Regions from separate parts of the Homo sapiens genome. Here regions 2, 3 and 4 are each linked to region 1. The links are contacts of gene promoters, found by promoter capture Hi-C in human tissues and cell types (Jung and others, 2019). All regions are on one chromosome and are shown on one strand. The core of a region is centred on a gene start or on the middle of the fragment in contact, and the rest is flanking DNA. Distances in the headings are between cores, read along the strand shown. Region 1 has its middle 64 kb from the start of C1QTNF3-AMACR. Region 2 holds the start of C1QTNF3 (C1q and TNF related 3). Region 3 holds the start of SLC45A2 (solute carrier family 45 member 2). Region 4 holds the start of AMACR (alpha-methylacyl-CoA racemase).

Region 1 (7,156 bases), core at 3,371-5,870:
TCAATGTGGAGGGGGGAGGGGCTGCTGCGGCAGCTGCAGGAGCCGACCTTGTTCTTCTCATGCCGGCATCCCTGCTTGCAGCTGTGAAGGGGGCAGGAATCATCGAGGTGACCTGGGCTGAGTCCCGGGAGTGGGAAGAGGTGGCAGGAAGGGGATCTGAGGAGGAGAACAGGGGTCCTGGTGGTCTGTGTTTCTTCCCAGACACGGGAGCTGTAGAGGGGAGCTCTGCAGCAGATGCTAGGGGGGCCAGTAGGCCCAGGCAGTCTTGGGACTTGGGTCTGTCCTGCTGTGCATCCATAGTGGGTGCTTTAGAAACGGGAGGCCCACGCGAAGCCCCTGTTGCAAGTGAGGACAAAGTGTGGGAAGGCCGCGAGGGTCGGCAGTCCGAGATGGCCTTGTCCTCAACGTGCAGTGCACTGTTGATGTGGGGCCTAGAGGCCTGGGATCTGGGGGAGCCACCCCTGGGGGCGAGTGTCTGCCCTGGTGCTGTATCTGCCCTCTTTTCACAGCGGGTGTGACCCGAAGAGACAGCCTGAGGTCCGTCCTCACTCACTGTCTTTGAGGAACTGTGGGCCAGCTGGCAGTGGGATGAGGCTGGCCCCCTCCTCCGCTTTAGTTCCGGGAGGCCTTCCGTAGAGCTGTGGGAGCTGGAGCTGGCATTTCGTTTGAGGCAGGATCTGGTCCGGGAGATCTGGGATCTCTGGTTGTATCTCACTTCTGACCTCTGGGCACGTGCTGCAGCTGTGGCTGAGGCCAAGAAATGTGAGGGGCCTCCATCCACTGCATTGAGTAGTGACCCCGACGTGGGGTTCAATGTGGAGGGGGGAGGGGCTGCTGCGGCAGCTGCAGGGGCCGACCTTGTTCTTCTCATGCCGGCATCCCTGCTTGCAGCTGTGAAGGGGGCAGGAATCATCGAGGTGACCTGGGCTGAGTCCCGGGAGTGGGAAGAGGTGGCAGGAAGGGGATCTGAGGAGGAGAACAGGGGTCCTGGTGGTCTCTGCTTCTTCCCAGACACGGGAGCTGTAGAGGAGACCTCTGCAGCAGATGCTAGGGGGGCCACTAGGCCCAGGCAGTCTTGGGACTTGGGTCTGTCCTGCTGTGCATCCATAGTGGGTGCTTTAGAAACGGGAGGCCCACCCGAAGCCCCTGTTGCAAGTGAGGACAAAGTGTGGGAAGGCCGTGAGGGTCTGCAGTCCGAGATGGCCTTGTCCTCAACGTGCAGTGCACTGTTGATGCGCTGGAATGCCGCCTGTTTTTCCAGGTGCAGGTCTTCAGCCGTGACCCGGTACCCCAGCTCTAAGGGAGGTGGCATCATCAAAGGCTCCCCTCGCCTGCTTGGCAGCAGGGGAATCTTGCGTCTACGGGGCCTAGAGGCCTGGGATCTGGGGGAGCCACCCCTGGGGGCGAGTGTCTGCCCTGGTGCTGTATCTGCCGCCTTTTCACACCGTGTGTGACCCGAAGAGACAGCCTGAGGCCTGTCCTCACTCACTGTCTTTGAGTAACTGAGGGTCAGCTGGCAGCGGGATGAGGCTGGTCCCCTCCTCTGCTTTAGCCCCGGCAAGCCTCCCGTGGAGCTGTAGGAGCTGGAGATAGCATTTCGTTTGGTGCTCGAGCTCGTCCAGGATGTCTGGGATGTCTGGTTATATCTGATTTCTGAGCTCTGGGCATGGAGGTCTGTCTGCAGAGGCCCGGGCCTGGGCACAAAGGGAGAGAGGCCTCCATTGTCCCGCAGGGGCCAAAATGCAGACCGTGCATCCCCGGTGACCTCGGGGACCGTTCTGTGATCATCAGGATTTTCTTGGACTCTGGGGTCCTTGTCCTGCTCAGGCATCCCTGCCCTGCTCTCCTTGAGGGCCCTCAACACTATCTTCCCTGGACACAAGTCTGGGGACAGCCGGGTGTTGAGGAGCCCAAAGGGGTGACTACCTGCTCCTGGGCCCCACAGAGTCCTTGTGCTGAGTGTAGTGGCTGAGCTGGGGGATGCCCTGGAATTCGGAGCACACAGCACTGGCTTACTGTGGTACCTGTGCAGTGAAATTGAAGAGAGAATCACCAGGATGGAACACAGGTCTTGCAGGATCACGGAAAACCTTCTTAGAGTTGTCTTGACACCACTGATGTCGAGTGTCCGGGTGTTTGTAGGATGGCCTGCCACTCAGTCCAGGGGCAGGAGCAACGGGGAGATCCCACAAGCAAAGTGAACTGGGCGATGGGCTGAAGGGGCTCCAGGCAACTGAGCCCTACTCGCAGGTCCTCGGCCTTGGCCCAAACAGGAATGAGGGGCACAGAGTGCCCGGGTAACCGCTCCTGGGAGCAGTGGGGAACTGTCGGATACTTGAACTCTCGAGAGCTGGGCTCTGAGCGTCCTCGTCCAGCTGCCAACTTGGCCAAAGGCTAAGCCAGCAGATTGTTCTGTTGCCGGGCGACGCGACTTCTAAACCTGAGGGAGTGGGCACGTGAGCACATAATGGCACCAGTGACAGAGCGACCATAATGGATTAATAAGCGCAGCCAGGTACCCGCGCAAGGCACTTGCTGGCAATGGCAGGAGGCGGACGTGGGGGGTCGTGCAATAGGTACTGGAGGGAGAGACGTGGGCACAAAGGTCGCGGGAGGAACAGGTGCCCACAATGGCTGCAGATCTGCCCGTGGATCACTGAAGATTCCTGCTCTCCTGCTGAGGTGGAGACTGCAGTGAGCTGAGATCGCACCATTGCACTCCAGCCTGGGCAACGAGTGCAAAACTCAGTCTCCAGATAAAAAAAAAGAAAAAGAAAAAAAAGAGGCCGGGTGTGGTGGCTTATGCCTATAATCCTAGCACTTTGGGAGGTCGGGGTGGACGGATCACGAGATCAGGAGTTGGAGGCCAGCCTGGCCAACATAGTGAAACCCCGTCTCTAGTAAAAATACAAAATTTAGTCAGACATGGTGGGCAGGAGAGAGCATGTGCAGGGGAACATCCATTTATAAAACCATCAGACCTCATGAGACTTATTCACTACCATGAGAACAGCATGGGGGAAACTGCCTCCATGATTCAGTTATCTCCACCTGGCCCCACCCTTGACACATGGGAATTGTTACAATTCAAGATGAGATTTGGGTGGGGACAGAGCCAAACCATATAATTCTTCCCCGGCCCCTCCCAAATCTCATGTCCTCATATTTCAAAAGCAATCGTGCCTTCCCCTAAGTCCCCCAAACTCTTATTTCAGCATTAACTCAAAATTCCATAGTCCAAAGTCTCATCTGAGACAAGGCAAGTCCCTTCCACCTGTGAGCCTGTAAAACCAAAAGCAAGTTAGTTATTTTCTAGATACACAGGGATACAGGCATTGGGTAAATACACTCGTTTCAAATGGGAGAAATTGGCCAAAGCGAAAGAGCTACAGGCCCCATGCAAGTCCAAAACCCAGCAGGCAAATCTTAGAGCTCCAAAATGACCTCCTTTGACTCCATGTGTCACATCTAGGTGATGCAAGAAGTGGGTTCCCAGGGTCTTGGGCAGCCCCGCCCCTGTGGCTTTGCAGGGTACGGCCCCCCCTTCTGGCTGCATTGAGTGTCTGCAGCTTTTCCAGGCACACAGTGCAAGCTGTCAGTGGATCTACCATTCCGGGGTCTGGAGGATGGTGGCCCCTTTGTGACAGCTCTGCTTGGCAGTACCCCAGTGGGGACTCTGTGTGGGGGCTCCAACCCCATATTTCCCTTTGACACTGCCCTAGCAGAGGTTATCCATGAGGGCCCCCCGCTCCCGTGCACAGCAAACTTGCCTGGATTTCCAGGCATTTTCATACATCTTCTGAAATCTAGGCGGAGGTTCATGAACGTTAATTCTTCGGTGCATCTGCAGGCTTAACACCACCTAGAACCTGAAAGGCTTGGAACTTGCACCCTCTGAAGCCATGGCCTGAGGTGTACCTTGGCCCCTTTTACCTGTGGCAGGAGCAGCTGGGATGCAGGGCACCAGGTTCCTAGGCTGCACACAGCAGGGGGTTCTGGACTCACAAGAGCATTTTTCCTTCTAAGCCTCCTGGCCTGTGATGGGAGGGTCTGCTGTGAGGGTCTCTAACATGCCCTGGAGACATTTGCCCCATTGTCTTGGTGATTAACATTTGGCTCCTCATTACTTATGCAAATTTCTACAACCCAGTCTCCTGAGAAAATAGATTTTTCTTTTCTGTTGCATCATCAGGCTACAAATTTTCTGAACTTTTATGCTCTGCTTCTTCTCGAATGCTTTGCTGCTTAGAAATTTCTTCTGTCAGATACCTTAAATCATCTCTCTCAAGTTCAAAGTTCCACAGATCTCTAGGGAACTCTAGAAAAAAATTCTTATTTTGACTCTTTCCCGCCTATCTTATGCCCGTTTCTAATACAGGTGCACAGTGCCTGCAGTGTCTTTGCATAGTAAGAGTGACTTTACTCCATTTCCCAACAAATTCCTCATCTCCCTCTGAGACCACCTCCGCCTGGACCTTATTGTCCATATCACTATTAACATTTTGGTCAAAGCCATTCAACAAGTCTCTAGGAAGTTCCAAACTTTCCCACATTTTCCTATCCTCTTCTGAGCCTTCCAAACTGTTCCAGCCTCTCCCTGTTACCCATTTCCAAAGTTGCTTCCACATTTTCGGGTATCTTTACAGCAGCAGCCCACTCTACTGGTATCAACTTATTGTATTAGTCTGTTCTCACACTGCAAATAAAGACATACCTGAGACTGGGTAATTTATAAAGGAAAGAGGTTGAATTGACTCACAGTTCTGCATGGCTGGGGAGGCCTCACAATCATGGTGGAAGGCAAGGAGGTGCAAAAGCATGTCTCACATAGTGGCAAGGCAGGAGAGAGCATGTGCAGGGGAGCTCCCATTTATAAAACCATCAGATCTCATGAGACTTAGTCACTACCACGAGAACAGTATGGGGGGAACCATCCCCATGATTCAGTTATCTGCACCTGGCCCCACCCTTGACACGTGGGAATTATTCCAATGCAAGGTGAGATTTGGGTGGGGACCCATCCAAACTATGTCAGTATGTTTTGACTTCTGGCTTGATTGCTAGGTTGCATAGAGGACAAACATGGAAATTAATGAAGTACCTTAATATCTGGCTTCAGATCTTAGACAGGATCAGAGGGCCAGCTCAAATTTGCAAGGAGGGGAGGTAGATCCCACCATTTTATGGGTGAATGGCAAAATCAAACAGAAATTATGTGGGATGGGAGATACTGATGCAGGCATCTTTGGAAACATTCTACTTAGCTAATTTTATGCTAGGCTTTAGGTCAAGAAGGAGAGAGAGAGCTGACATGCTGTGGTACACACTTATAGTCCCAGCGACTTGGAAAGCTGAGGCAGGAGGATTGCTTGATCCCAGGAGTTTGAGGTAGTGTGCGATGATCGTTCTTGTGAATAGCCACTAGCCACTGAACTCCAGCTTGGGCAACATTGAGACACCCTGTCTCTTAATTTTAAAAAAAAAAAAAAAAAAAAAAAGGAGGAAAGAAAGTGGTCTCAGTTTTTAATGTAAATATTTTTAATGGGATAATGATATTTTAAGATTAATGTATATTGTATATCAGTTAACTATAGGTCAATAATTATATAAAACTTAAGGTACGAAAAACATTTATTTTTGCTAACATATCTGTGAGTTGACTGTTCCTGGCTTGGTGAGGCTGCGAGCTGCAGATAGAGTCTAGGTATGTTTTCTGTGTGTTTGTTCCCCCTTGGATCAGTGGACTACCTGAGAATGTGTTTTTGTCACAGTGATAGAATCACAAGGAAACTCCAGTTCTGGAAGTACATTTTAAGCCATTGCTTCTATCATGTCCACTAACATTCAGTCAGCCAAAGCACATACCTTGTCCATGGCTAACATTGATAGTATAGATAAATATACCTGATCTCTAGCAGGAGGAACTGCATTGTCTTGGGGAAAGGTTTTAGATATAGGGAGGGGTGATGAGTTGGGAACAATAATGTAGTCTGCCACAAACATATTAAAGTGTAACTGGATATGGTTGCTGCAGAATTTTGAACCTTTGTTTTAATTGTGATTTTTACTCTTTTTCCCCTATCTAGTGCCCTTTTGTAATACAGTAATTCTCATGATTTTTGTCTGAATTGAAATCTTCTGAGATTAGATTGTCTACGAAAATACAGTCTATCCTCCTTGTTTTCAGCTTTTGTATTTGTGAACTCACCTACTATTTTTTGTAACCCCCAAATCAGTACTCACAGCCTTTCATAGTCATGTGTTTGCGCAGAGTGTCAAAAGAATTTGAGTTTGAACAGGATGATATTCTGCCTTCTTTTTCAGCTCTCATACAATAGTCAGGTATCCTTTTTGTGGTCTATTTAATGCCATGCTTTTCCTGTTTTTGTATTGTTTGTTGGTTGTTTTGCCATTTAAATTAACCCCCAAGCATAGTGCTGAAGTGCTGCTTAGCATTCACAAGTCCAAGAAGTCTGTGATGTGTCTTACAGAGGAAATACATGCATTGAATAAACTCCATTCAGGCGTGAGTGCTGTAGTGCCATTGGCTGTGAGTTCAATGTTAATGAATGAACAATGTATATTATTTATTTATTCTTCATTTAATTAATTATTATTATTTTTTTTGAGATAGAGTCTCACTCTGTTGCTCAGGCTGGAGTGCAGTGGTGCAGTCTTGGCTCACTGCAACCTCTGCCTCCTGGGTTCAAGCGATTCCCCTGCCTTAGCCTCCCAAGTAGCTAAGACTACAGGCATGCGCCACCATGCCTGGCTAATATATATATATATTTTTTGTAGTTTTAGTAGAGACGGGGTTTCACCACGTTGGCCAGGCTGGTCTCGAACTCCAGACCTCAAATGATCTGCCCGCCTTGGCTTCCCAAAGTGCTGGGATTACAGGCATTAGCCACTGTGCCTGGCCAACAATATATATTAAATAAGCACACATACAACAAAAGTAGGTGTTGGTAAGCTTACAAAAATGTGACCAGTAGCTTGCTGAAACCTAACTTTTTATTTGTTCATGGAACTTTCTAGACCGTAACTACACTGAATAATGAGAATCTGCTGTAATCTTTTTAGGTGCTGTAGATGAGCCATTGGATTAAATTATTACAGTATGTTTCAGACTGCTCTATGTTGAACCCTAGTGAAA
Region 2 (7,280 bases), core at 4,276-6,775, 140 kb after region 1:
AGGGTCCTGGATGGCTGTAGAAGGCACTTGCTCTTTTTTTTTTTTTTGGCTTGCTGTTTTTGTGTCATCTGAGCAATGGCCCTTAACCCTGGTAGCTATAGTTGGTTCCAGGTCAACTTCTTTCTATATTCCCAGAATTCTTCTCATTGTACCCTGGCAAAGGTATCAGTTTTAGTTGGGCAGTGCCCCCTACACAGAAACCTGCAGGGTCCCTTCTTCCAGCTTCTAAATTCAGATGACACCAGCCTCTCCCCTTGGTTCCCTCAACCTTACAAGATGGTTACTTCCCTGTGTTGTGTAATTTCTTATAGTAAATTCTCTGTGTTAAAATATCTAGTGTGGTTTCTGTTTCTCTGTTTGGAGCCTGATGGACACAAATGCTCAATGACACCAGCTGTTAACATTATCCAACAAGTTATCTCTCTCTCTCTCTCTCTCTCTCTCTCTCATGCACACACACACATACACACACACACTACCATGCTTAACACACACATCTCTGATTAGTATTTGGCTTCTCAAATAGATTTGTCTACCAAGAGAATTTGTTTTTCAGCAAACATCTATAATACATGTAGCCAGTTTGAGAGTTATATTTTTCATTATAAATGAATACATTAAGATGATAGTTTTTGTACATGAGTCTCTGAAAGCCTTATTCTTGTGATGGAGACAGATCCATTCCTGGGACACTGGCAGTGAGTTTCCTGCACTTGAATAATGACCCTAAACATGTAATTCCACCAAAATTGTAACATCCTGACCAGCTGACCAACTTCCTCTCTTATTCCTTTGTTCCTCATTTTGCCCTGTACTGGTGGCAAGGTGAACCCATTTTTCTTCAAATGGCAATATCTAATATCTATAGGCAATGTCCCCTTTCTGAACACACTCTGATTCTTTTTAAAACTTCTTCTTCAACTGGAATTTCTCTGTAGAGCATCTGAAAAAGCCCTTAACATGAAGTCATAAACAACCAATACAGCTAAACTACCTCATCTCAAGGTGTATATTAATTTTATTTGTATATTGATAAATCTCTAATTGGTTTAAATCAAAGAGACTAAGCCTTGATTTTAGAATCTCAGAATTCACTGTGCTTAGTACGGGGAGTATTTTTCACTGGGAAGAGGCAAGAGAGAGGTGGGTCACATTTCCACTGCTCTCGAAAATCATGCAAACAGTTGCCTCCTTTAGCTGCTCTTTAAGTTGGCACTGATACAAAGACACGTTCAGTCCAACACAGTTCTTGACTGTCCCTTGGCCAGACCATAACTGATCTCCTTTTGGCTTAGGCCACAGTGAAGCACCATGGGGGAGGCCACGGAGTACCTACACATCTTATAACGGCCTCCTTTGTAAAGCTAAACAAATATTTCCCTCTGCCTTGCAAAGCTGAGTCACAGATCTGGCTTTTACATGTATATTCATATGCATCTGCACCTCTGCTGCTCACATTAGTGGCCCTGCCAACGTCCTAACTGGGCCCTTGGGGCCAAGGCAGGCAGGATGCAGTGACAGTCCCAGTGTATCCAGGAGCCTGATGTCCTCAGGTGTCTTTTGTGAACTTTCACAGCCAGAGACAACTGTGCAGAACTGGGACTTCATCACCTCCAGGGAGGTTGCCTGGGGCAGATTCTAGATGGTTTTAATATTCAACCCATAGGTAAAAAATTATGCCCAATTGTTATTCACATCTTTGAAAACTAGACATAAGGAACATTCTGGAGCATATATGAAATGATAACCAAGTAAGATTTAATAATAAACCAATGTTTAAAATGCATTTAATGAGAAATTACTGGAGGGAAGTAAAAGATACCTATATTGAAAGATGAGGGACTCTTCTCTCTGGCCCAGTTTTCTACTTACTGCCCATGAACTTAAGTAATTTACTAAATCTTTTCAGACTGTCATCTCTGCGTGTACAAGATAGTACATGTGTAGACTCCAGACCTCTACTGGGTCTGGAGTGTTTTTGTTGTTGTTTTGAAAAGTTTTCATACATGTTCTCCCTATTTGTTTGCTAAGACTGACATAGCAAAATGCTACAAATGAGATGACTTAAACAGTGAAATTTATTGTGTCACAGTTTTGGAGTCTCAACGTCTGAGATCAAGGTGTTAGCAGGGTTGGTTCCCCCTAAGGGTTGTGAGAGAATCATCTGTTCCACGCTTCTCACCTACCTTCTGGTGGTCTGCTGGCAATCTTTGGTATTCCTTGGCTTGTAAATGCATTACCCTCATCCCTGCTTTCATTTTCACATAGTGTTCTCCTGTGTGCATGTCTGCCTCTGTGTCTAAGTTCTCCCTTTTTATAAAGACACAGTCATTTTGGGTCAGGGCCCACCCTAATGACCTCATCTTAAGTTGATCACCTTTAAAGACCTATTCAAAAGTAAACTGAGGCACAATACAGTTTTAAAGAGTTTGAGCAAACAGCAATTCATGACTCAGGCATGAGTCTAAACCAGAAGAGGTTCAGGAGCTCTACCAAGGGAGCACAAGGGGTGGGGAGGCTTCTACAGGACAAACACAGATATAAAGCAAATAAAATAGTTGATTGGTTACAGTTGTACAATTGCCTTATTTGGTCTCTCCCATTGGAAAGCTTCTGAGTCATTTAACTTACATTGTGTTTTTCTTTAATATAGGCATTTACAAAAAGTTGCTGAAGTTAAGTTTTGCCTATGTTTGCAAACCAAGCAAGGTTAAGGCCACTTATGAAACCTAATTGGCTTTGTCTGCTAAGGGATTCTTCAGGCCTGGTGTCTATTTTCATTTACTTTAACAATCCCTATTTTTAAATAGGTCATATTTGCAGGTACTAGGGATTAGGACTTAAGTTTCTTTTGGGGGTACATAATCCAACCCATAATACTTTCTGACCCCAATTCTTGAAGGCAGGCTCCCTGGCAGCTCTCAGACTGACCTTCTTCTCTCTGCCATTGACCCATTATTGATTTCTTGGGAGAGATCAATAATGGGCCAATGGCAGAGAGAAGGAGAGATCCTTCTTTGCAGAATCCTTCTCTGTAGATCTTTCTCTATAGCAAGGCAGGAGAACTCACTCTGGAAAGACAGATGGAGTCCAGTTCTTTCCAGCTGCATAACACAAGACAAGTCACTTTACCTCTGCAAGCTTCTATCACCTCATCTATAAGATGGGATCATAGGTTTGCCAACAGAAGTCAGTGAGATAAAGCAAAGTAGTACTTGGCTAGCACATGGTAAGTGCTTAACAAATTATGGATATTATTATTTATTCCTTTTGAGTCAATGAGAGGATGGATCAGTGATTCCTAACCCTGGATGCACCTTAGAATCATCTGAGGGAAGCTTTTAAAAACTGCCCAGGCCCCAGTACAGATTCTGACTCAATTGGTCTGGGATAGAGTCCAGGCATTAATATTTTTAGAAGCTCCTTGGTTTAATATGCAGCCAGGGTTGAGAACCACTAGAATAGATGACAGGATTGAAAACACGAATGGAAAGTCTCAATGCGGTAGAAAGTCAGAGGCTGATTTATAGTTACTTAGCAGTATGGCCCACTTCGTGGGGGATGCATGATGGTGAGAGCCAGAGACAGCTCTTGGAAAACCTGTGAATTGGGTGACCTAGATTTCAGAGCCACTGCTTGCTTTGTGGTCTCCCTGTGACATTTTCTCTGGGCCTCCCTGAGGAGGGAACACCCCCACTGAGACACTGCTCTGGGCTTTCCTTCCCACAGCAAAAGCCCATCCACTTGCTCACCCTCCAAACACAGGCGCCATCCTTTCCCCAGCTCCAGCTCCAGGTCTGGGAAGAAAATCCTCAGTTACTAAGAATAACAGTTTGACACACTTCCCTTCCCAGGGACATCTACCTTTTAATGGTGGACATGACAGAACTCAAGGAATCCTCCAGTGAGGAAGGTTTAGATGCTCAAGGGTAGACTTGTAGCACAGAGATGGCTGAATTTTTATGCCCTACTAGGTGGGAACTGACTGCTTGGACTGAACATGACTCCCAAGGCCCCTGAACTGTGGCCTGGAGAGCTTTTAGTTCACAGAGTAACTCTCTCCCTCCGTCCCCAGCACCAAACCCTTTCCATGTATAAGTGTGGACTCTGGAAGCGGCTGTTCTGGTAGCTGCAGGAGGGGCCAGGCTAGTTTTGACAGTTCTGGCCACTTCCAGAGATGGCTCTTGGTTCTCAGGCCCTTGGCTGAGCAATGGGGGCAGCTGTCAACAGCTCTCTCTCCTCTCCCCTTTCCCCAGCTGCTCTGACTCTTCATCAGCAGGCTGAGCTTCTCCAAGCCTCAGTTTCCCACAGTGCCTCCTCGCCCCCTTCTCATCAGACGCTTGCCACCCATGCTATTTACGGTCCTGGGTCTCTCCAGTTTTCATGAGAGAAGGCCAGTAACATTTTCTTAAGCGAGTGAATGAGTAATATAAATAAAATCATATGTAAATAGAAGCAATTTTTGATGACAAAACTGTTTAAATTCTCTTAATTTATTATCCTGAAGCAATTAGGAATGTCCATTTTCTTTTTGGCTGAATTAATAAAAGTATAGCAACTAAAGCAAAGACATGAGAATCCTCTTAATCTGGATACGCTGTGTTTGAAATAACGTGTTTGGTGCTTTCCACTTCTTCAGTTTTGTTATTTATTTATTTTTTAAGTAGAGACAGGGTCTCACTAAGTTGCCCAGGCTGGCCTCGAATTTCTGGGCTCAAGGGATCTACCTGTCTTGGGCTCTCAAGGTGCTGGGATTACAGGCATGAGCCACTGTGCCCGGCCCCGTTTCTATTTTAATCAAGAATATGTCAAAAGAAAGAGGAGCCAGAGACAGCCTTCTCTTAACACAAAGCAGGGTGTTGTATCTTCATCTGACAATAAGTGACTTAGTTAACTTTGATTTAATTTTGGCTTTTGGGAAGTCATGGGGAAAAGAAGTAAAGCTGAGGGTGGCGAAATACCTTTGCTAAACCCAGAGACACTGCACCTGAATCCTGCTCAGTGTTTTGTAGGCAACCAACTGCCTTCTGCCACTGGTATCCGGAAGGGGAAATGAGTTACCTTAAGTGGGCCAAAGTGGGGAAATACTAACAGTACAGCTAGAAACCAAGAGCTGTCGTGAAAGCCCTGAATGGGTTCCCACTGCTATTTCAGACAAAACTGATGCAGTTAAGCCTGAATTTCCTGGCAAGCACAAGGGTAGATTTTTCCAAAAGGCTTTTTAGACTGCAAATACACAGCCTTTCCATGTCTAATCACAAAAGCAAACTGCTGGACACATGCTCTCTGTTCCCAGCTGGTTGTGTATGTTTTCTTCACACTTCAACAGAAACGTGCCAAGGTGTGACATTTATGAATTTCGCCAACTGGGAACTGTGCACACAAATCGTTCTTGCTTGTGGTGTGGGAAAATGATGAATGGGGGCTGTTCTGCCTGGGGAGGAGGGCTGCTGTCACTCTGGCATGCCTACAGCCTTATTTATTACACACCAAAGTATAAAACCACTCCGCCGCTGCAGCTCTCAGCTCCAGTCCTGGCATCTGCCCGAGGAGACCACGCTCCTGGAGCTCTGCTGTCTTCTCAGGGAGACTCTGAGGCTCTGTTGAGAATCATGCTTTGGAGGCAGCTCATCTATTGGCAACTGCTGGCTTTGTTTTTCCTCCCTTTTTGCCTGTGTCAAGATGAATACATGGAGGTGAGCGGAAGAACTAATAAAGTGGTGGCAAGAATAGTGCAAAGCCACCAGCAGACTGGCCGTAGCGGCTCCAGGAGGGAGAAAGTGAGAGAGCGGAGCCATCCTAAAACTGGGACTGTGGATAATAACACTTCTACAGACCTAAAATCCCTGAGACCAGATGAGCTACCGCACCCCGAGGTAGATGACCTAGCCCAGATCACCACATTCTGGGGCCAGGTACTCAGAATTCTCTTCTAAGGATTTTTGTGAAAGCTTAATGAGTGTTGTTGTTGTTGTTTTGTTGTTGTTCTTTTTTTGGCTAAGATTCTTAGAATCAATGAATGCTTTCGAGAAGTTCGCTAAGCTGCTTGTGAATCTCTTTCTGGATTGCTCTTGGGTACAAGAGAGACTGTCGGTCTCTGTTAGAAAATCAGCAGAGGCAGCAATGATGTGATGGGATAGTGGCCGTAGCATCACCCCATCAGAAAGGGGAACCTGGCCAGCCAGCTTCCTGCTATGCTGGGACTTGATTTCCTTCTTGCTCTGTTGGTCCGGAAAGGAGTGCTGACCCATGCAGACAGATCGGTCACTGTAGACAATCATTTGTTGTTCTTAAGAGAATTGGGCTTTCTTCATCCCTTCCGGCAGGGAGAAGCTGCCCTTTGAGTTTGTCAAAAGCAATCAAAGTTTTTTTACTTTGATTTGTGAGTATACTGTGACATTTCATGGCAGTCTTGTTTATTTGATTTATAGCATTCTAGATTGTTAAGCCTCTCTGTTCAGCCTGTTTTAAAAAGAATTAAAGAGTTAAATAAAAAATAAACTGTTTGAAATGCATACCTTATAGCATGATTTGATGCCTGATAATCACAGAGGACTTGATCTATTTCTCAGGTTATAAATTCAGCTCTAAGGAAATATCTTTAACTCTTGGTAGTATGAGAGTGAGTTAAGATTTCAGTATAGTGAATTGCAAATTGGTGAAACTCAATGTAATTTAAAATATTAAGTACAGGAAGAGACATATTTTGAATTACCCTCTAGACATCTAGTATGCTGAAAACTGTCAGAGGGGGCAAGAAGAGTTACTTTGAGTTATATGATATTTGAACATACAGGTTTTTACTACAAGATTTGATTACTTTAATGCATTAAATAGGACCTGAAGAATTTCTTGTAATTGAAATCTAAATCCTTCCTACCATGGATTCAGAAGTTTGGGTTGGTTGTTTGGTTATATGGTCAGACCAAGATCACACACAGAATCAATTGCAGATTTGAAACTAACCCAGAACTTCTAACTTGACCACACAAGGCAGTTGCCCAAACCATTCTGTGGGGGATGCATCCAGAGAAAATTGCTTCTTTAAGGAGCCACGGAAGAAATGATAATCTCTAAATATGATCCTATCTTTTGAAAACCACTTTTAGAGATTGTCTATTCATCTGATAATCTTTTGGCTAAAGGGTAATGATTAGCACTAATTTGTGTGTGGGTTTTTGTTTGTTTTTGTTTTGTGGTGAAGATATTTTCACTTGTGTCCAAGACTTGATCTGGACTTTCCATTTCACACATGGTATCCTTCTTGGCCAACAGATGGT
Region 3 (7,276 bases), core at 1,302-3,801, 200 kb after region 1:
TTCGAGACCAGCCTGGGGAACTTGGCTGGACCTCCGTTTCTACGAAATAAAAATAAAAAAATTATCCAGGTATGGTGGTGTGTGCCTGTAGTCCTATCTACTCAAGGGTGGGGCAGGAGGATCACTTGAGCCCAGGAATTTGAGGCCACAGTGAATTAGGATTGCACCACTGCACTCTAGCCCAGGCAACAGAACAAGAACCTGTCTCTAAATAAATAAATAAAAATAATAATAATAAAAAAGATGTTTTCCCTACAACTCAGACTTTTCATTTGAACTCGGTCCAGCAAGGAAAATATAACCCACTCGAAGTCTTTAAAACAGAGGAAATTTAATATAAAGAATTCCACTGGTGACGAAAGAGCAGAGAAGCCCAGAAGATAGTGAGGCAACCCTGATAGGAACATAACTAGGAAGCCAAGACCACTCCTATGGTTGCAGGGGTGATGGGAAAGCTGGTGTACTTGGACCCAGAAGCCAAAGTTGCTGCACCCACCTTGGAGACATAGACACTGGCAGTAATACCTCAGGGAGAAGAAAGAAATCTAGGGAAATATCCTGGCTTCTTTCCTTCTCTCTCTCCCCTAGTCTTCCTACCAGTGTCTCCCATTAGCCAAATCTACCTAGAAGCCAGAAAACAAGGGAACCCTGGAAATGTAGCCCCATAAGATAAAGAGCACCAAAGGAAATAGATCTGAGCAGACAGGCAGCACAAAATGCAGTGTGTATGGTTTATTCACTCAGTAATTCCTTTAGCAAATGTTTATTGAGGATCTACTAGGTGCCAGGTATCATGATACTTGCTGGGGATACCATAATGAACAAAACAGACCTGTTCTCCGCTCTTGAGGAAATCAAAGACAAACACAGGATATGGAATAAACCCAGAATTATCTCATTGTAAAATGTGTTAAGTACCACGAGGAGAAATATCAGGGCGATCTGACACAGCTAATGATTTGAAGAAGGGTGTGACCTGCCACCATTTTAAATCTAGTTATTTCACTCCTGAGCTGTGTGTGTGGAAAACTTGTAGTAAAAAATAGAATGTCTATATTTATAAAAAGTTTATGAAAAGATATCAATTTATTTACATTTTGACAAACTCTATGTAATAAGGCTTTATTACCTCACGGCCATGTGTGTGATCATGTGTAATAGCATGTGTGTATGAGAGAGAGAAGCCATATGTAATTATGTGTAATAACGTCTGTGAGAGAGAAGCCATGTGTGTGATCATGTAAAATAACGTGTGTGAGAGAAGCCATGTGTGTGATCGTGTAAAATAACGTGTGTGAGAAGCCGTGTGTGATGTGTAATAACACGTGTGTGAGAGAGAAGCTATGTGTGCAATCATGTGTAATAGCATGTGTGTGTGAGAGAAGCCATGAGTCCGATCATGTGTAATAACGAGAAAAGCCCCATGTGTGATCATGTGTAATAGTGTGTGTGAGAGAAAAGCCATGTGTGTGGTCATGTGTAATAATGTGTATGAGAGAGAAGCCGTGTGTGATCGTTGTGTAATAACGTGTGTGAGAGAGAAACCATGTGTGATCATGTGCAATAGCATGTGTGTGTGAGAGAAGCCATGTGTGATCATGTGCAATAGTGTGTGAGAGAGAAGCTGTCATGTGTAATAATGTGTGAGAGAAGCCATGTATGATCATGTGTAATAACGTGAGAGAAGCCATGTGTGACCATGTGTAATAACGTGTGTGAGAGAAGCCATGTGTGTGGTCATGTGTAATAAAATGCATGAGAAGCCATGTGTGATCATGTGTAATAGCATGTGAGAGAGAAGCCATGTATGATCATGTGTAATAACGCATGTGAGAGAAGCCATGTGTGACCATGTGTAATGTGTGTGAGAGAAGCCATGTGTGATCATGTGTAATAGCATGTGTGTGAGAAGCCATGTGTATGATCATGTGTAATAACATGCATGAGAGAAGCCGTGTGTGATCATGTGTAATAGCATGTATGTGAGAAACCATGTGTGATCATGTGTAATGTGTGTGAGAGAAGCCATGTGTGTGATCATGTGTAATAGCATGTGTGTGAGAAGCCGTGTGTGATCATGTGTAATAGCATGTGTGTGTGAGAAGCCAGGTGTGATCACGTTTAATAGCGTGTGTGTGAGAGAAGCCATGTGTGTGATCATGTGTAATAATGTGTGTGTGAGAGAAGCCACGTGTGTGATCATGTGTAATAGCATGTGTGTGTGAGAGAGAAACCATGTGTGTGATCATGTGTAATACTGTCTGAGAGAGCCCATGTGTGTGATCACGTGTAATAACGTGTGTGTGAGAGGGAGAGAAGCCATGTGTGTGATCACGTGTAATTGTGTGTGTGTGTGAGAGAGAGAGAAAGAGAGAGGGAACAGTACAAAGGAGGATCCCTTTAGAAAAGTATTCCAACGTCTTATGGAGCCAGAGGGCTGATTCACAGCTGCTAATCTCTGTCATGCTTTCCAGCACCACCCCCTCCCTCTCATCATAACTTGTGATCTTAGAGGCAGGAAAGAATTTGAGCCCCTCCCCCAGCCTGACCATCTCTGTTGGTTGCTCGGCCAGGCTCCACGTCAAATCCAGTTTGAAACACAGACCCTAGGACCACGCAGGAGGTGGTGGGCTCGCAGGAAGGTTCCTCTCCCAGTGGCCATGGGTAGCAACAGTGGGCAGGCTGGCCGCCACATCTATAAATCCCTAGCTGATGATGGCCCCTTTGACTCTGTGGAGCCGCCTAAAAGACCCACCAGCAGACTCATCATGCACAGCATGGCCATGTTCGGAAGAGAGTTCTGCTACGCGGTGGAGGCAGCGTATGTGACCCCAGTCCTGCTCAGCGTAGGTCTGCCCAGCAGCCTGTACAGCATTGTGTGGTTCCTCAGCCCCATCCTGGGATTCCTGCTGCAGCCCGTGGTCGGATCGGCCAGCGACCACTGCCGGTCCAGGTGGGGCCGCCGGAGACCCTACATCCTCACCCTGGGAGTCATGATGCTCGTGGGCATGGCTCTGTACCTCAATGGGGCTACTGTTGTAGCAGGTAAGTGGGCTGCACAAGGTGGGCAGACAGGGATATGTGTCTTAGTGTGTACCTCTGCAGGAGGAGGATGTTCATGTGTTTGACCTTTCCTAGAAATTTGTTAGAATTGATCTCTCCTAGGTTACAATGAACTTCCCCTTTGACAAATTTGGCCCAGATTCTGTGGTTGGGGAGCCTCTACTTCTAGAAATATCAAAATAAATATGTTTCATTGTTGTGAAGATTTAAAAATAGGATTAAATTTGTATCTATTTTATTAAATTTGTATCTATTTTATCGAATTGAATATTTTTACATATTTATCAATTGAGTTACTTTTTGAGCCCATTATGCTCTATTTAATACTCTTATCAAATTGACTGGCTGCCAAATAGCTCCATAAATATTTACAATAAGTCACCTGTGTATCCAAATAAGTTAATTCTGTTCATAGTTTTATGTAGAGCGTTTTAATAGGCGTAGGGCATAAGCCCATCAGCTCAAGAGGACCTTTCTGGCATTGCAAATTCTGGACAAAAGCAAACCTGAGGGTAGGCATTTTTTCTAGCCATTAATCAGCTACCAATTAATCAGTAATTGATGGTAGTACAATAAAGTTGCATTGCAAAAAGGATCGCTAAAAATAGCACACATTTGTAGATCATTAACTCTCAAGCTAGCAGAATCGGTGATTATGAGGCAGGATAATCAATTATCATTTGTACATATTTGAAAGAAAGCGTAAATGTACAAATGTAGGATATTTCCAGGAGAATGAACAAAAAGCTGATAAGCATTGTTGACTCTAAGGAGGATTACTGAAGGACAGGAGGTGAGAAGTGGCGGGTAGACTTATTGTTCATTTAATTTTATACTGCAATTTTTAAAACGTGTATATAATCTATGCTATTCTTAAGTTTAAAAAGCAAATGGAAACAAGAGAAACAACAATGTATCTTTTATAGGAGATTGGGTAAACGATTACAGCGTATCCGTAGAATGAAAATCCAGCTGTTAAAAATTGTGAGGAGCTGAAATTATATGAAGAAAGTTGGTTACTGCATCAGTGCTGTTCAAAGATGTGGCCTCTGACCTGCCCCTCAGCATCAGCAGAGACCGTTAGAGATGCAGTTTCTCGGGCCCCCTTCAGGCCCACCAATTGAATCAGAGTCTTGGGAAATGGGGCCAGCAATCTGTGTTTTAACAAGACATACAAGCGATAGTTCAATATGCCAGACTTTGAGAAGCACTGCGTTTGACTACCATTGTACACGTGTGTCTGTATGTGCAGAAGTGCGTAAAAGGAGGCCTTAAAGCCTGACCTTTGCTGGGGCTGGGATTGGAAGCATCTCCCTCAGCTTTTTTAATAGAATTGGAATTGCTTGCGATAAGCATGCATACTTTTTTATTTAAGGAGATATTTTACATACCAGAAATTTCACTAATTAAAAGTGTACAATTCAGTGCCTTTAGTATGTTGTGCAACCATTACCACTCTCTAATTCTACAACATTTTCATCACCCCCAAAATAAACCCATTACCATCAATAGTCACGTCCACTTTTCCCCTATGCACCAGCCCTAAGCAACCACTAATTTACTTTGTGTCTCCATAGATTTGTGTTTTCTGGACATTCGCTTGCATAATTTTTAAAACCTGAAAAAAAATGTAAAGCTATTTTTATTTGGAAAAAAGCAAAATAAAAGCAAGGAAGATGATTTTATGGCAAGAAGTTTAGGTGGAAATTACAAAACGCGGATGATTCTAAAACAGGATTTAGGAGACCAATGTTTATTTTTCTTTTAGCTTTGATTGCTAACCCAAGGAGGAAGCTGGTTTGGGCCATAAGTGTCACCATGATAGGTGTCGTTCTCTTTGATTTTGCTGCCGACTTCATTGATGGGCCCATCAAAGCCTACTTATTTGATGTCTGCTCCCATCAGGACAAGGAGAAGGGCCTCCACTACCATGCCCTCTTCACAGGTAGGGAATATTCCAGAAAGTCTCTCCTTCAGCTCCCCAGACAATGAGGCACTTCCACTAAAGCCATCCAGTGTCTCTACACGTGGAGTTTTTTGAATGAACGGGTCAGCTGATGGGCTGCTCCCGTCATGCGGGCACTGTCTCCCCGTGCATTTCTCTGAACAGTCAGCTTGTGACTAGTGCTGCAGTTTCTGCAAAGGAAGTTTACAGAAGAGCTTTCTTAAGAATGCTTTGTGGAGACAATTACAACTGAAATGGAAAGAAGCCTTGTGGATTGTACTTTTGCATTAGAGCAGAGGATCTCAAGCATCAGCAATGTAGCATCCACATTCCTTAGAAGGTCATTGAAAATACAGTTGCCTGGGCTCCTTCTCCAGTTATTCTGATTCAGTGAGTCTAAGGCGGGGCCCAGACATTTGTATTTTATTTAATAAAGACCCCAGATGATTTTGTGGCAGGTTTAAAAAACAAAAAGAGAAAACAAACCAAGCAAACAAAAAACTCAACGTCTTAGAAATTTCTTAGTTATGTAAAAGGTTGGCATTTCCTCAACCTTGTGGTTTGAAAAAGTTCATGCCAGGAGGAAAATGGGAGCTCTCTTGATCTCTTGGGACTGTTGCCAGCCTACTTTGGTTACTGTTGGTCAATTGTTTAGAGCAATGCTACTCAGAGCACCAGTTAGGACTATGCTAGAACTAGGCATTGAAATATAAGGCGACAGGAGGATCCTGGCCCAAGAGGATTTTTATATCTAAGAGGGGGACTCTATCAGCCCACCTTATTTGATTGTCTTTGTAGCCCAGCCAATGCCTTTATTTATGTTTTGATGTATTCTCTCTCCTTCCATGGCCAGGTAGGTCCATGAAAAGCAAGATTTCAAGTTTTGCTCATAGTTTCTGTCTCTAGAGCTAAGACTGCTGCCTGCCCATGGAAGCCACTGGAGCCAATATTTGTCATTTGAGCAAACATTTGAATAGTTGAAAACATGAAGGAGTGAGGCCGTTGGAGCACAGTTGGTAGATCCTCCTCTGTGTAAGGAAGGCAGAGGGGCAGGAGTGCAGCCCCGTCTGTCACTGGCCCCTGCCCACTATGTCTCCAGGTGTTTAAAGGCACCTAAGACATGGCCAGGGCTTGAGACTTCCCCTGCCTCACCTTTGCTCTTGGCTTCCCTTCCCACTGCACTTTCCACGTGTGTCTCCTCACTCGGGTGCTCCCACCCCGCTGGCGTCCTTCTGTCTCTGGGGTCAGCCCAGCCCATCATACCTGCCCCAGGGTTTGGCATGAGCTCTTGCCCTGCCTGGGACACCCTTCCCCATATAATCCCATAGTCATGCCTTTATTCCACTCAGATTTCTCATCAGATATCTCTCATCAGTGAGGTCTTTCTTGGCTACCGTACCTGGCATAGTATGACCACTCCTCTTTCTCCTCATCCTTATTGGGTTTGATTTTTCTTTCTAGTGCTTATCAATACCAGACTAACTGACTGGCTATTTATTTATCTATCATCTGTCTCTCTCTCTCCTTCTCTTTTTTCTTTCTGGTTGTCTCTCCCATTTAGAACATCAATCCCAGCTGAGCAGACCTGTTGTTTTGTTCTCTGATGAATCTTCAGTTCCTGGAAGTGTCTGCTGCATAGTAGGTGCTCAGTAAATACTGAACAAACATTTCTCAAATACCCCATGTATGATAATAACCATGTATTAGGTATTTTCTCTTACATTATCTCGATCCTGACAATGGCCATGTGGAAGTGGTGTGATTCCCATTTTTCAGATGTGGAAGCTGAGCCTTGAAAGCAGTGGTGTGCTTACAGCTGGCTCATGCTGGCTTCTTGAGAATCAATTGTCAAATTTTAGGAATTCAGTGAACTTGTTGACATCATATTGCTGGCTTGAAACTGGCCATGATGGCAGTATTAAAACTCTAGAAATTGGCAAAGCTATAAATCATGGTTTTTTTTTTTTTCTTGGAAAGCCAGTTGTTAAATATTTACCTGAAGTCCACTGATTGGAGTAGGAGGGGGGTTCGGTGATTAAGTCACTTGCCCATAGTCCATAGCCGGAAAGTCTCATTGAATAGATTCCAACTTCATTTTCCTAACTTGAATCTGACAATTCCTTCTGTTTTATTATAATTTGTTGAAATTAATTACAAGGTCATGGGAGACTTTCTGGCTTTTGAACTCGATATTAAGAGTTTATTGATCTACAGGACATTGGACAATGTGGCCACCACTTCCCAGCTTACAATTGTATTAGATGTGGC
Region 4 (6,469 bases), core at 2,654-5,153, 180 kb after region 1:
TCGTTTACTAAGGCTGCCGCAATGAAATACCGCAGACTGGTTGGCTTAAACAATAGAAGTTTAATTTATCACAGTTCTGGAGGATAAAAGATCAAGATGTTGGCAGGTTTGATTTCTTCTGAAGCCTCTCTCCTTGGCTTGAAGACAGCAAGTGTCCTCACTTGATCTCACTGTGTCCTCACATGGTTCCCTTAGGTCTGTGTTTTTTTGGTCCTAATCTCCTCTTCTACAGATACTAGGATTGAATATTAGTCATATTGGATGAGGGCCCACCCATATGACTTCATTTTGGCTCTATCTCTAAATACAGTCACATTCTGAGGTATTGACGGCTAGGGATTCAACATATAAATTTTTATTGATTTATTATTAATACATAATATTCGTACATATTTATGGAGTACATGTGATATTTTGATACATGCATACAATGTGTAATGATCAAATCAGGGTTTTTAGGATATTCATCACCCAGAACATTTATCATTGTTTTGTGTTGGAAACATTTCAAATCTTCTCTTCTAGCTTTTTGTTTGTTTTTGTTTTTTTGTTTTGTTTTGTTTTCTTTTTGGAATAGGATCTCACTCTGTCTCCCTAGCTGGAATGCAGTGGTGTGATTATAGCTCACTGAAGCCTCAAACTCATGGGCCCAAGTGATCCTCAGACCTCAGCCTCATGAGTTAGTAGGTTTATAGGTGTACCCCACATCCAGATAACTTTTCAAGATTTTTTTTTTTTCAAGACAGAGTCTTGCTCTGTCGCCCAGGCTGGAGTGCAGTGGCACGATCTCAGCTCACTGCAAGCTCCGCCTCCCTGGTTCAAGTGATTCTCCTGTCTCAGCCTCCCTGGTAGCTGGGATTACAGACGCGCACCACCATGCCCAGCTAATTTTCATATTTTCAGTAAAGACGGGGTTTCACCAATTTTTCAAGTTTTTTGTAGAGATGGGGTCTCACTGTGTTGCCCAGGCTGGTTTCGAACTTCTGGCCTCAAGTGATCCTGCTGCATCAACCCCCCAAAATGCTGGGATCACAGGTGTGAGCCACTGCATCTGGCCACTATTTTGAAATATACCATATACTGTTGTTAACTATAGTCACCCAACTGTGCCATCAAATACTATTATTTAGCTATTATTTATTCCTTCTAACTACATGTTCATACCCATTATCCAATCTCTTTTCATCTCTGCCCCCCCATCATTCTACTCTTTATGAGATTAAATTTTTAACTCCCACATCTGAGTGAGAACGTGTGATACTTTTCTTTCTGTGTCTAGTTTATTTCACTTGACATAATGACCTCGAGTTCCATCCATGTTGCTGCAGATGACAGGATTTCATCCTTTTTTTATGACCAAACAATATTTCATTGTGTATATGTACACATTCTCTTTGTCCATTCATCCAGTAATGGACACTCAAGTTGATTCCATATTTTGGCTATTGTGAATAGTGCTGCAATAAACATGTGGGTACAGGTGTTCCTTTGACATACTGATTTCTCTTAAGATTTTTATCAAGACAATATGTGCACAGCTGAACATAGACCCTTATCAGGAGTTTTTGATTTTGCCTTTTGCCTTGTGATCTTTATTGGCCTCAGAAGCATGTGATCTTTGTTCTTCTTGTTTGCCCTTTGAAGCATGTGATCTTTGTGACCTACTCCCTGTTCTTAAACCTCCTCCCCTTTTGAAATCCTTAATAAAAACTTGCTGGTTTTGCGGCTCAGGTGGGCATCACGGACCTACCAATATGTGATGTCACCCCTGGTGGCCCAGCTGTAAAATTCTTCTCTTTGTACTCTTTCCCTTTATTTCTCAGACTGGCCGACACTTAGGGAAAATAGAAAGAACCTATGTTGAAATATTGGGGGCGGGTTCCCCCGATACTTTTGGACATATATCCAGTAGTGGGACTGCTGGATCATATAGAAGTTCTATTTTTAGTTTTCTCACAAACCTCCATACTGTTTTCCATAATGGCTAAACTAATTTACATTCCTACCAACAGTATATATAAGTTCCTCTTCTCTGCGTCTTTGCCAGCATTTGTTATTTTTTGTCTTTTTGATAATAGCCAGTCTAACTGAAGTAAGATGATATCTCATTGTGGTTTTGATTTGCATTTCCCTGATGATTAGTGATGTTGAGCATTTTTTCATATACCTGTTGGCCATTTGTATGCCTTTTGAGAAATGTCTGTTCAGATCCTGTGCCCACTTTTTAATGAGATTATTTCATTTTTTGCTGTTGAGTTGTTTGAGTTTCTTGTATAGTCTGCATATTAGTCACTTGTTGGATGAATAATTTGCAAAATATTTTCTTCTATTCAATAAGTTGTTTATTCTGTTGTTTCTTCTGTTGTGCAGAAGATTTTTAGTTTAATATAGTCCCATTTGCCTATTTTTTGTTTTTGTTGCCTATGCTTTTGAAGTCTTAGTCATAAAATCTGTGCCTAGGTCAATGTCCTGAAGTGTTTTATCTGTTTTCTTATAGTAGTTTTATAGTTTTGGGTTGTATGTCTTAAGTTTTTTAATCCATTCTGAGTTGATTTTTGTGTATGGTGAGGGATAGGGGTCTAGTTTCATTCTTCTGCATATGGATTTCCAGTTTTTCCAGCACTACTTATTGAATAGAATGTCCTTAATATATGTTCTTGGTGTTTTTATTGATAATCAGCTGGCTGTAAATATATGGATTTATTTTGGGGTTCTTTATTCTGTTCCATTGGTCTTTGTGTCTATTTTATGCCAATAGAATGCTGTTTTGGTTACTACACCTTGGTAGTATAATTTGAATTCTGGTAGTGTGTTGCTTCCTGCTTTGTTCTTTTTGTTCAGTGTTGCTTTGGCTATTCAGGACCTTTTGTGGTTTTATACAATTTTTTTTTCTATTTCTATGAAGAGAAAGCCACAGAGTCCTAAAATAATTCTAAAACTCATCATGACTTTCTTGCCTAAAAGATCTTGATTTCAATCGTGCCTAGTTTTGCTTTAATCACTTGCTTGAGAAATACATAAATCCCCACTTAAGATTAGTGCAGGCATATCTCTGGCACCCATTTCTGGTTCTATTAAAATTCCTAGAGATGTCAAAAATTACATTAGGCCACCTGACAGGCTATACCTAGAAGAGAAAAAATGATTTGTAAAAGCAGTGGGGCTATTTGCGATTGCTTTTTTTTTTTCTTAAATATCACCTATTAGGTTGAAAACCTGAAATTGCAGCTTTCTGTAGAAATGGCGGAAGACAAACTAACATTTTTAAAGCGCTCTCATTTAGCTCTGATGAGTACTACACCCCTGATATTCTTCTGATACTAAAATAATTTTCCTAGTGTAGTCTAAACTTTTTTAAAAAGACATGTAATCCGCGGAGTTTGTAACTCAAAACGAGTGCATCTAGGAGGTATCGCAAGCCGTTTCTGGATTAAATTCCCAGCTAGCTAGCTAGCTAAGCAGGGGCGGTGAAGAAGACAATCTGCAGCCTAGGGAAGAAAACGCTTTCGCATTGTTCTTACGTGTTTACGTTATTTTATTTCCCTAGAGCAAGGCAGGAGTAGGGACTCGAATGGTACAGTTGGGCTGGGGATCGCCCTGGTACAATAAAAGCGTCCAGAGAGGACGGTAACAGGCAGGAGCTCCAAAGGTCAGTCCCTGCAATTTAAGACTCAGGAATTTAGGTTGCACAAAAAGGAAAGCAACCTACTGCATTTGGCACTGGCGGTCCCGGGAGGCCGGGGGTGGGGAAGCGCCCAGTGCGCAGACTCCGCGGGCTTGCGCAGGCCCGCAAAAGAGGGACGGGGGTGGTGCCTTTGGGGCGCGGCGCCGCGGCTGGGGGCGTGGCGCCGGGGATTGGGAGGGCTTCTTGCAGGCTGCTGGGCTGGGGCTAAGGGCTGCTCAGTTTCCTTCAGCGGGGCACTGGGAAGCGCCATGGCACTGCAGGGCATCTCGGTCGTGGAGCTGTCCGGCCTGGCCCCGGGCCCGTTCTGTGCTATGGTCCTGGCTGACTTCGGGGCGCGTGTGGTACGCGTGGACCGGCCCGGCTCCCGCTACGACGTGAGCCGCTTGGGCCGGGGCAAGCGCTCGCTAGTGCTGGACCTGAAGCAGCCGCGGGGAGCCGCCGTGCTGCGGCGTCTGTGCAAGCGGTCGGATGTGCTGCTGGAGCCCTTCCGCCGCGGTGAGCCCGGGCCCCGCGGGCTGCTCTCGGGAAGTTCCCGCGGAGGGGAGGGGCCTGGCCGTTCGATCGAGGCTGCACCCGCCACACCTTTGCCCTGTTGCCGCAAGAACCCTTGTCGGCCCCAGCCTTCCAGATTTTTGCCTCCTAGGGTATTGTTAGTGATCATTCTTCCCAAACTGGATTGTCCAAAACTTGGGTTCTGAGATACTGCTGTTGCCCGGTTTCTCCTTTTGCCTCTCTGACTCCTTCCCAAATTCCTCCTTTTTTTTCTAAGAAACGTTCCGTATTTGCCTTTCTTAATTAATTGAGGGTCTTGAACCCTGTGAGAATCTAATGAAAGCCATAGGATTCCCTTCCTGGAAAACTGCATATAGGCGGTCATTCGGCTACCGTTTTGGAGTGCTGTACCCTCAAGCCATCCACGGGCCCAGGCTAACGCTCCTCCCTGCCTGAAATGCTGGCGTTCTAAGTCTCAGCATCTGCTCCCTGAAGCCCAGTTACCCATTCCCATCATTTTCACCTTTTTGTAGACTTCCCCCTTTCAGAGCGGCAGACGCTGGCATACACAGGTCCTGGGCATCGCCGTCAAGGCTGCCCGCCAGGCAGCTTCCACAAATCCCAAAATGAGCCTTTCCTTCTTCCTTCTAAAACAGCATCTCCACCTTCTGTATTATTTATTTCAGTGAATGCCTGAATCTCAAACTTGTACTTCATCATGGACTCCAGTCTTCCTTTCACATCCAATTTCAATGATCATCAATACAGTCATTTTGCTCCTTAGCCCACTCGGACTATTTCTCTCCATACCTGCTGCAACTGCCTTGACACTGGTGTGACAGCCTTTTAAAAACTGGTGTTTGGGGCTGGTATCACTCCAGTGGATTCTCAGACAGCTGCCAGAATAACTTTGTTCAAGTAGAAATCCAAAGCATTGCCTGGTCTATAGTGGGAAATCGGTAAATGGTGAATGAATGAATGCCTACGGCACAGCCGGCTTATTTAAATGCGTTAACTCATTTAACCCTCACAGCTGTATTTGAGGCTTGTAACAATAATGATTTAATAATTAAGATTATGTAATAATTTAAGAATGCTCCATTTAAGATGAGGGAGGCTTGTCCAAGGTCTTGTAATTAGGAGGAAGGTCGGCTGGGAATACGGATATAGCCTCCGGGTGAGGAGTTGTGACTGGTGTTTAGGTAGATGACTAGAGGTTTTCTGTGATTTATTTTAGCCTTAGGAAGGTAAAGATAGTGAGTTTATTATGTAATTTTGATTACTTTTAATCCCAGGAAATTTCAGGTGCTGGTTACCTGGGGTTTGTGCTATAAATACTATACTTGTTGATAGCTTAAAAACTCTCAGGTGCTATTGTCACTAACCACTCTTTCTACAGATGGGTGCTAAACTTTTTCGTGAAGGTACTGATGCTAGGCACTTTAGCGCCTGTGGAAACATCAGGTGTAAATTCTGCAGGAGGAGCTCATGAGCTGATAGGGAAGATAAGTGTATGCATGTACAAGCAAGTGCAGCTAAGGTGGGATGTGGTAAACACTGATGCGGTATAGAAAAAGAGAAAAGGGATTTACTAAAGGGATGAGACCCTGCTCTGGGGATTGAATAAATAGGCTTGGATAAACCTAGAGGGAAACAGAGATGTACTGGGAGAAATTACATCCTGGGAAGAAGCCACACATTCCAGAAATGGTGGCTTCACTCTTTGAGTCCTTAACTGCTGTAAACATGCCATTAGCCTACAGCAAATGTTATTAATATTACTTGCAATGGTGCTATTTTATGTTTGTCTCAGAGAAGGGATTATCTCCATCCTCAATTCATACTCTCTTAAGAAGATCGTTACTTTTCTCTTAAGGTGTCATGGAGAAACTCCAGCTGGGCCCAGAGATTCTGCAGCGGGAAAATCCAAGGCTTATTTATGCCAGGCTGAGTGGATTTGGCCAGTCAGGAAGCTTCTGCCGGTTAGCTGGCCACGATATCAACTATTTGGCTTTGTCAGGTATGTTGAAAAAAAATTTAGTCTACACTTTTAATTTATTCCATCAAGATCTACAGGTATGTTGATTAACAATAATTTGTAAAGGTAAAAATTTAAACATTTATCAGAATCAATCAAGAGAGCATGGGTGTTCAAAATGGATCGGTTTGAGTCTTGAAACAATCATTCTCAACCTTCCCTCACCCCATCCCTTAACAGGTTGGAAGGTTAATACATGCCCACTACTATCATTTATTTACTACATTTGTTGAGTCAATTCTCAGACAAACCCC

The links. Contacts are between HindIII fragments. The study calls those that stand out against the background at their distance.
Region 2: the fragment with the promoter of C1QTNF3 here is called in contact with a fragment that was not itself captured in region 1 in 2 of the 25 tissues and cell types used here (hippocampus and mesenchymal stem cells).
Region 3: a contact is called between the fragment with the promoter of SLC45A2 here and a fragment that was not itself captured in region 1, in 1 of the 25 tissues and cell types used here (hippocampus).
Region 4: a contact is called between the fragment with the promoter of AMACR here and a fragment that was not itself captured in region 1, in 1 of the 25 tissues and cell types used here (bladder).

The regions. Positions count from the first base shown.
Region 1 is chr5:34,184,831-34,191,986 of GRCh38, reverse strand. It overlaps a transcript of C1QTNF3 not described here and the pseudogene LOC646652. Among named protein-coding and RNA genes, the nearest start is that of C1QTNF3-AMACR, 64 kb to the right of the region's middle. RefSeq lists enhancers at 1-292, 304-483, 293-1,273, 2,128-2,197 and a silencer at 3,447-3,615. The HindIII fragment of the contact is 9,368 bases long and covers 1-7,156 here.
Region 2 is chr5:34,041,458-34,048,737 of GRCh38, reverse strand. C1QTNF3 (C1q and TNF related 3) reads left to right here and starts at 5,525. Exons shown (of 6, transcript NM_181435.6): 1 at 5,525-5,915. The coding sequence starts at 5,613. All of the region lies in intron 1 of C1QTNF3-AMACR (C1QTNF3-AMACR readthrough (NMD candidate)), which reads left to right. The HindIII fragment of the contact is 5,092 bases long and covers 2,877-7,280 here.
Region 3 is chr5:33,979,968-33,987,243 of GRCh38, reverse strand. It overlaps SLC45A2 (solute carrier family 45 member 2), which reads left to right and starts at 2,551. Exons shown (of 7, transcript NM_016180.5): 1 at 2,551-3,045; 2 at 4,832-5,008. The coding sequence starts at 2,661. AMACR (alpha-methylacyl-CoA racemase) reads left to right here. Exons shown (of 5, transcript NM_014324.6): 5 at 1-1,079. It overlaps C1QTNF3-AMACR (C1QTNF3-AMACR readthrough (NMD candidate)), which reads left to right. Exons shown (of 9, transcript NR_037951.1): 9 at 1-258. The HindIII fragment of the contact is 13,392 bases long and covers 1-7,276 here.
Region 4 is chr5:34,005,484-34,011,952 of GRCh38, reverse strand. It overlaps AMACR (alpha-methylacyl-CoA racemase), which reads left to right and starts at 3,903. Exons shown (of 5, transcript NM_014324.6): 1 at 3,903-4,180; 2 at 6,054-6,197. The coding sequence starts at 3,934. C1QTNF3-AMACR (C1QTNF3-AMACR readthrough (NMD candidate)) reads left to right here. Exons shown (of 9, transcript NR_037951.1): 7 at 6,054-6,197. RefSeq lists a silencer at 3,687-3,766. The HindIII fragment of the contact is 16,164 bases long and covers 1-6,469 here.